Regions from separate parts of the Homo sapiens genome. Here all the other regions are linked to region 2. The links are contacts of gene promoters, found by promoter capture Hi-C in human tissues and cell types (Jung and others, 2019). All regions are on one chromosome and are shown on one strand. The core of a region is centred on a gene start or on the middle of the fragment in contact, and the rest is flanking DNA. Distances in the headings are between cores, read along the strand shown. Region 1 has its middle 68 kb from the start of LINC02513. Region 2 holds the start of FAM114A1 (family with sequence similarity 114 member A1). Region 3 has its middle 46 kb from the start of LINC02513.

Region 1 (2,700 bases), core at 144-2,643, 570 kb after region 2:
TTCCTGTCTTGCTGTCTTCCCTTGTGATTTGAGAAAATTTTGTAGTGATATGCTTTGATTCCTTTTCTTTATTTTTTTGCACATCTATTACAGATTTTATCTTTACGGTTATCATGATGCTTGCATAAAATATCTTATAGTCACAACAGTCTTTTTAAAGTTGATAACAACTTAACTTTTACTGCATACAAGAACTCTCTACACTCTAACTTCTCTTCCTACACTTTGTTTTTGAAGTCACAATTTACATCTTTGATATTTATGTATTCATCAATACATTATTGCAGCTTTTGTTATTTTTAATACTTTTGCTTTTTAACTTTTATACTAGAGTTAAAAGTGATTTACATACCACCTATATGATATTAGAATATTCTGGATTTGACTTTTTTTTTGTTTTTTTACCTTTACAGTGTTTTATTCTTTCATATTTTTCCTGGTGATAGTCTCCTTTTATTTTAACTTGAAGAATTCTCTGTAGCTTTTCCTGTAAAGTAGGTGTAGTAATAATAAACTCCTTCAGGTGTTTTTGTTGTTGTTGTTGTTGTTGGTATAGGAAAGTCTTTATCTCTTTTTTATTGCTGAAGGATAGCTTTGCTAGATATAGTATTCTTGATTGACAGCTTTTTTGTTCTTTTAGGACTTTGAGTATATATCCCCCTTTCTCCTGGCTTGCAAGGTTTCTGCTGATAGTTGTGTGTGGCTTCTTTTGTATGTAACAAGTTGCTTTTCTCCTGGTGCTTTCAAAATTCTCTCCTTGTCTTTGACTTTTGAGAATTTAATTATAATGTGTCTTGGTGAAGATCTCTTTCTGCTTAATTTACTTGGGGTTCTTTGGGCTTCATGGATTTGTAGGTTCGTTTTCTTCTCCAGATTTGAGAAGTTTTCTATCATTACTTCTTTAAATAAGCTTTCTTCCCCTTTCTCTTTCTCTGCTTCTTTTTTTGACTACCATAATGTGTTTATTGATTTACTTGGCAGTGTCCCATAAGTCCTATAGACTTTCTTCACACATCTTTATTCTTTTTCTTTTTGTTCCTTTGACTACATAATTTCTAATGAACTCCTTTACAGGTCACTAATTCTTTCTTCTGCTTAACTGAGTCTGCTGTTGAAGCTGTCTATGAAATTTGTTAATTCAGTCATTGTATTCTTCAGTTCCAGGATTTTTGTTTGGTACTTTAAAAAATGATTTCTATCTTTTTGTTGAACTTTTCATTATGTACATATATTGTTTTTCTGATTTTGTTTACCTATTTATTTGTGTTCCCTTATAGCTCACTAAGCTTTTAAAAAATAAATATTTTGCAATCTTTGTCAGGCAGTTTGTAGTTCTACATCACTGGTGCTTTACTTTGTTCCTTTAGTGGTGTCATGTTTCCCTGATAATCCATGATCCTTATGGCCTTGTATTGGTGTCTATGTATTTGAAGAAATAGGCATCTCTTCCAATACTTACAGACTGACTTTGGCATAAAAAACTCTTCACCAGTTAACCTGTCCAGAAATTCTTGGTAGGCCAGCTGGTGGGGTCTATGGGAGTGCTTGCTGTTGGAGTCCTCAGGTGGGCTGTCCTGGTGCCTGGGTCCACAGGAGCCAACCTGGCACTGGGACCTACTAGAATGGGCCTAGTGACTAGACCCATGAGGGTGGCCCTGAGGGTCTGCAGAAGACAACTTAGTGCTGAGGTAGGCCTAGTGCCTGGGTCCTTAGGGGTAAACCTGGTTTTGAGTCTGTAAGAAATGGCATGGTTGCAAAGTCTACTAGGGCAAGCCTGGGCTCTGGGTCTGCTGAAATCTGCATCAGGGGGCTGGCCTGATGCTAGGGTTGTCCTAGAGCCTGGGTCTTCAGGGTGAGCCTAGAGCCAGGGGTTGCAGGAGCTGACCTGGTATTAGAGTCCACTGAGACAGGCCTGGTGCTAGAGTCCATGGAAAAATTGGGTGCTTATTCATGCTTATTCCTCCACGTGGAGGGAATCTCTCTCTGCACTGTGCTGCATGGGCTTAGAGAAGGGGTGGTGCAGTTTATGTGAAAATGTCCTTCCTACCCTCTTCAATGCATTTTTCTTATTTCTGTGCTTCAGCCGTGTGCTGTAGTCTCTCAGCTGGGTTTCTTAGATCTTGTGAAGATATTTTCATGCATGATTGGTTGCTCAAATTGATGTTTATGTGAGGGAATGAGTGCTGGATATTTCTATTCCACAATCTTACTCTAAACAACAAATATTTACCTAGCATTAGATTCAGTCACTTACTTAATGATTGTTTAAGGATCACCAATAACTTTGCAAAATGCATGAGAGCTATGCTTTGAAAAGAGAGATTATCATGGCAACGCTATTTTTGAAGTCTAAGAAAAATAGTATCTGATTTTGGCAATCAGACATTTCTGAAATTATTGTTATTCTCATTGGACTCTACATATATCAGCATAGTGAGCATATGTATGTGTGTGAATTTCTGCAATACAGAATTCTAATTAAAGGCAAATGTGAAAATAATAGGAAATATATATACTGGTCTTTGCACCCACTTCCTGATGTAGAGCACTTAAAGTCTTTTTAGATAGGAATGCTAGGAGAATCTTTTGTTAAATATTTTGTCTTTGACCCTGGCTTCTGCCATAGAGCTCCTAAGAAATTTGTAATTCTCTGAGTGATAGAAGCATCTAGTGCAGAGTTCCTAAATCCCTTTTAGGAGC
Region 2 (2,700 bases), core at 33-2,532:
ATAAAAGAGAAACCATGTTTGATGTAAGCCTGGTCAAATAAACAAAGACAAGTTTACTTTTATGGTCTGAATCGCTCAGATTCAAGAAAGCCCCCTCCAACCCTCAAATTCCTTCTGCACTGTCTCACTTGTGCCTCAAATCCATCCCTAACGTCTCATTCCTTCACTTAAAGGTTACAATGTAAGAAGTTTATCAGATTCTTTCCCAAGCTCAGGCTTGATGGAAGAAAGGAGGGCGGGGACGCAGGCCTATGGGTGGGGTAGGGAAGGAGCCACTAGGCTGCAGAGAGGGCAAAAAGAGGCTCTGAGGATAGAGCCTGTCTCATTCTCAGTTGTCACAGGTTGGCTGAGGTCACAGGGAGTTCAGAGCACACTGATTTAAGAAGCCACCTGCCTGTGTCCTTCAAGATGTTTAGGATGGGAAATGATGGGATCAGTAGGGCATAGGTAATGCTCTCACAGCCCATAGAGAGATGTCTTCCTACTTAAGAAAAGGCAGTGACGTTCAGGCGCCTGGTCTGAGGTGCCTGGAAATACTCACCGGATGGCAGAGGCGAGGGCTAGCCGACTGGGTGGAGGGGGCCTGGGGATCTGCGGTAGGGAGTGGGACCCATCCCGGGGGCTGCGAGTGGAGGCGGTGCCTGCTTAGAGTGTTGGCTGGACTGGAAGAGCAGGCAGGGCGTGGGTCGGCTGTTGGGGGAGGAGTAAGGCGAGGGGAGCGGGGAGGTCAAGGCCTGAGCTCCCTGTGCCAAGGCCGAGGGCAGGCGCACCCTGGGACGAGGCCTCTGTCTTACAGGGACCTGCTCCCTTCGTGCCCGGGCTGGGGGACCCTGCAGCCCACCTCTGACTTGGCCCCGAGCCATTGGGGGCACTTTTCCAGACTTGCTTGGTGCCAGGACTGGATACTTTGGGAGATCCAGGCAGGCTCCGCGGAGGTTCACGCAGGCCGAGGGGGCAGACCCTGAGTGTGGGCGTGTGGGTGTGTGCATGAGCGTGGACCCGGAGCGACACACACTCACACACACACACTCACACGCCCGCACCCACGCAGGTCCCTCGGCCGCGCCGCCCCAGACCCTCACCCCAGAGCCGGGTCCTCCCTGACCACTGCTTCTCACTAACGCAGAGGGCAGGATTCGTGGGTCCCGGACGAGGCGCCAAGGTATGGTGTTCCCACCACCCCCGGGCAGCCGCCCCCGCGCTCGCCCGCCCCCCGGGGAAGGGGATGGGGACCGAGTGCCCGGGGCTCTTACCGCTCAGGCGGCCGAGTACGCGCGGGAGTGCCCAGCGGGTCCCGCCCCGCCACGTCTGCAGGGCCGGCGGGGACGCGGCCGGAGGGCGGGCGGCTGGAGAGGGGGCCCCGCCCCGCCTGCGCCCCGCCCCACGAGGAGCGCCGCGGGGACGCCCGGCCACCCCCACGCTGCGAGGGCCGGGCCCGCGCTGGGCGAGTCTCCTGGAAACTTGGCTTGTCCCACCCCTGTGCCAGCGCGGAAAGCCAGAGCGCGCCGCCTCTCCAGCCCAGGGCGGGTGGGTCTCGGGGTTCGCCAGATCCCTTTCCTTTCCTTAAAAGGGCTTGGAAAACCCCCCGCCGTGTCACTGGGAAGAGGTCGCTCAAATTCAGCTAAAGTTTGATCTCCTGATTCTGCGTTAAGCAGCACTCCCTTGCCCTGTCGGTGGGAGTGTGATAGATTTAAAACAAACAAACCCCAAACAAACAACGAAAACCCACTTTCCAGAAGGCCAGTTTGGAGCTGTGGGTTAAAACTCCGATGTATTAGCTTTGGCCTAGGAATTCCACATTTGTGAATTTGTCCTAAGTAGGCAGTCAAATGGGCAAATATGTATGTACAAGGATGTTTGTTGTAGTTGTTTCTGCGGGGGGAAGCCGGAGACAATCTCAATGTCCCCCAGTAAGATTGGTGAAGTAAGCTACAGTAACTTCAGACATCGAATATGTTGTAGCCCTTAAAAATGAGGATTCGTTGACATGGAGGGAAGGCCACATATGAAGGCCTTCCTCAAATATGGCTTAATATGAACTCAGATGCGGAGGAAGCGCAGTGTTTATAGTATTAACTAGTTTTGTAAACAATTTTGTATTTTCTATAAAAGTCGGAGGAAATACAATTTAAAAATAGTGATTCTTTCTGAGCGATGTGTTTAAGGCAGATTTTCTCCTCTCTCACTCCATCCCTTCTTCTTTTTGAAGAATTATAAATTCAAAGTTAAAGAAAAAATAGCCCTAGTCTCTCCCTTTCAATATCACTACCATTTTTTATAGTGTGTGGATCCTACCATAGTTTTTCTAAGCTTATATAAATACATGTATGCATAAACAGCTTTTTGTTTGCTTTTTTATAAAAATGGCGAGATGTTGACGTATTTTGTAAATTTCCCCCTATTTATTATATATTATAATCATCTTTCTTGGTCAATACATATCAACCAAAACCACTCTTCTAAGACTTGTCTTATATATTGCAATATGTTTGTAATTATATTTCATTCAATCATTCTCCTATTGACAATTAGTTTGCTCCTTATATTCCAGTTTCTTCCATATATATATTAATTAATTTATTAATTCATTTTTTTGAGATGGAGTCTTGCTCTGTCGTCCAGGCTGGAAAGCAGTGGCGTGATCTCAGCTCACTGCAGCCTCTGCTTACTGGGTTCAAGCAATTCTCCTGCCTCAGCCTC
Region 3 (2,700 bases), core at 159-2,658, 550 kb after region 2:
CCACCAATGCGTTCTCTCCAAAATTCAAATCTAAGCATATGATTATCTTAAAATCCACAGCTTGCCATGACTCTGTGGTTCTTAAACCCTAGTGTGCATCAGAATCACCTAGAGGGCTTCTTAAATCCCAGAATACCAGGCCTCATCTAGAATGCTCTTCCCTCTTCCACAGTTCCCTCTTTCTCCTGCTGAATTCCTCAGTCAAGCCTTCTCTATTTCATCCACCTCCACCTCCACCATCATCATCACCATTATCATCACCAACACATATTGAGTGATTACTGGCTCCATCCCACCGAATCCTCAAAAAAAAAAAAAAAAACCATGGCAATAGGGAACATGATTCTCCCTATAGCATATAGATAATAAAACTGGGGCTCAGCTAGGTCTAGAAACTTGCCCAGAGTCACATAGCTAGTAAATGGTGGAGCCAGGATTCAATCCTGGCAGGCTGACTCCAGTATTGAGGCTCCTAGCCCCTGAACCTACTGCCTCATCCAAGCAGAGCCTTCCTTCCTCAAAACACTCCTCCCTGTCATTTACATATGGAAACACACATACCCTAGAATGTGATGTCTCCCTTACCAGAGTGAGTTATTCAAGGGTGGGTCTTTCTTTCTTTCTTTCTTTTTGAGAATCTGGCTCTGTCGCCCAGGCTGGAGTGCAGTGGCATGATCTCAGCTCACTGCCACCTCCATCTCATGGGTTCAACCGATTCTCATGCCTCAGCCTCTGGAGTAACTGGGATTACAGGTGTGCGCCACCATACCCGGCTAATTTTTGTATTTTTGTAGAGACAGGGTTTCGGCTTGTTGGCCAGGCTGGTCTCAAACTCCTGATCTCAAGTGATGCTCCCCCACCTGCCCGCCACGGCCTCCCAAAGTGTTGGGATTACAGGCGTAAGCCACAATGCCCAGCCTCAAGGGCGGGTCTTTATCTTTATTTCCTATGCCTAGCACCTAGAGGGTACTAATCAATGTTAATTGTTAATTACTTGTGCTAGAGTGTTTGCAAATAAAAGGTAAATTTTCTGATGGGTTCTTGGGCCATACGAAGTGAGAACTGTACCAGAAGATTGTAAGTTCCTTATATAGATATCATTTTATATTGCAGATACATAGATACCTCTATGATGATATATACCAATGATACACAGGTATCATCTTATATTAGGGGAAATCCCGTGAGGGGTGGCGATCCAAAGATTATTGCCATCTCTCTTAGTGGGTCCACATCTTATCCATTTCCATCTCAGCTACTCTGAATACTTCTCTAACTTATTCAGAGTGAAGGGAGTTTTTACCCCAGAGCAGAATGAAAGCAGAGATGCCTAAATGGTAGTTTTACAGGAAGCTTTGGTTAACGTCTTTTCTACTGGTCTAGAAAAATACCCTAGGAAGTCACCATTTTAAACAAACAAACAAAAAAAATCACAGGAACAGGTGCATTAGAATACAAATCTCATGTGTATTTGGAACCAAGACCAACGTTTTCTGTACATAACCACCATCAAAAAAAGAATATCAGTTGTCTTCTATATCCAAATCCAAAGTGCAGGCAAACATCAGCTTTTGGTTCTTCTCTGTTTTCCTTTGAATGACACTATTGCCAGCCAGCCCTCGGGGTTCTCCACTGCTGCAGTTTTGAAACTTTTCTTTCCCAGGTTAAGAAACTAAAGTTGTAATGGAGAAAGAAATGGGAGAAAGCTACATCCCAGAGCAGAGGTGACCTGCCAGCACTCTAAAGTTATTCTAGACCTAGTACAGGCTCAAGCTTAGGACATTTGTTTCTTTTCCACCTGACTTCAAGGAGCTTGTCAAAGCGCAGCCTAAGTTAACAGGCTCTGTCAATGTGAGTACCAGAAGCCAGGCCGCCACCTGCGCTGTTCCAGAAGCCAGGGATACAATGAAAAAACACAAACGTTTCTCCCCATTTTGCTGTATACATTCCAATTCTTTCGCTAGGGACTGTACAAAATCCTGTCTTCTCTGGCAGGTTTCAGGTGGAGGTCCTGGGATGCTTGGACCCAGGACGGCCCATAGTGCGGGCCTCTGCGTCCTCTCCCCCTCACATAGGGGCAGAGGCCAGGAGGCCTGGATCCTTCCCCAGCAACCGTGTGGAGGTTTTTACTTCCTCTGATCCAGGGGACACATGTAATCTTTTTCTACAACTCCCTGAGGCTGGTTTTTCCCACCCTACAAATCAGTAAGCATAAATTTTTGCAGAGAAGCCTGGAGCCATGGGTCCTAAGCATTCAGGCAGCCAAAAAAATTAAATTTTCAACCGGAGCCGGGTAAGGACACATGGTCTCAAACGTTTCCTGCCCAATTGGAGCCGCTTTCCTCCTCTTGCACACTTGCTCCCCCTACTGCCTGACGCTGGAAGTGCAGGCCTGGCTCCGAGGCAAGCTTGAACGCCCCAGCTCGGTCCTGGGATGGCCAGGGTGAAAGCCAGCAGAGCAGAGAGGTTGCCAAAAAAAAAAAAAAAAAGCAATAGTACATCTTTCATAATTCTCCCACTGCTCTGGGGAAGGCACTAAGCTAAGTCTTTTCTTTACATTTGAAGAATAAACTCTGTAATAAAGATTGAATAAAAGTCTTCCCTGAATAAAGTTTTGCCAAATAAGTTAAAGTTAGGTCTCCCTTAAGGGTTCAATAAATGAAAAGAACTTCAGTTTTAGATTCAGACCTCGTGAAATCC

What was found. Contacts are between HindIII fragments. The study calls those that stand out against the background at their distance.
Region 1: a fragment that was not itself captured here is called in contact with the fragment with the promoter of FAM114A1 in region 2 in 1 of the 25 tissues and cell types used here (mesendoderm cells).
Region 3: a contact is called between a fragment that was not itself captured here and the fragment with the promoter of FAM114A1 in region 2, in 1 of the 25 tissues and cell types used here (lymphoblastoid cells).

The regions. Positions count from the first base shown.
Region 1 is chr4:38,297,475-38,300,174 of GRCh38, reverse strand. No RefSeq gene overlaps it. Among named protein-coding and RNA genes, the nearest start is that of LINC02513, 68 kb to the left of the region's middle. The HindIII fragment of the contact is 4,324 bases long and covers 1-2,700 here.
Region 2 is chr4:38,866,388-38,869,087 of GRCh38, reverse strand. It overlaps FAM114A1 (family with sequence similarity 114 member A1), which reads right to left and starts at 1,282. Exons shown (of 15, transcript NM_138389.4): 1 at 1,254-1,282; 2 at 542-690. It overlaps MIR574 (microRNA 574), which reads right to left and starts at 1,056; the gene lies at 961-1,056. It also overlaps a transcript of TLR6 not described here. RefSeq lists an enhancer at 148-731 and silencers at 939-988, 1,039-1,518. The HindIII fragment of the contact is 6,667 bases long and covers 888-2,700 here.
Region 3 is chr4:38,319,674-38,322,373 of GRCh38, reverse strand. No RefSeq gene overlaps it. Among named protein-coding and RNA genes, the nearest start is that of LINC02513, 46 kb to the left of the region's middle. The HindIII fragment of the contact is 3,401 bases long and covers 1-2,700 here.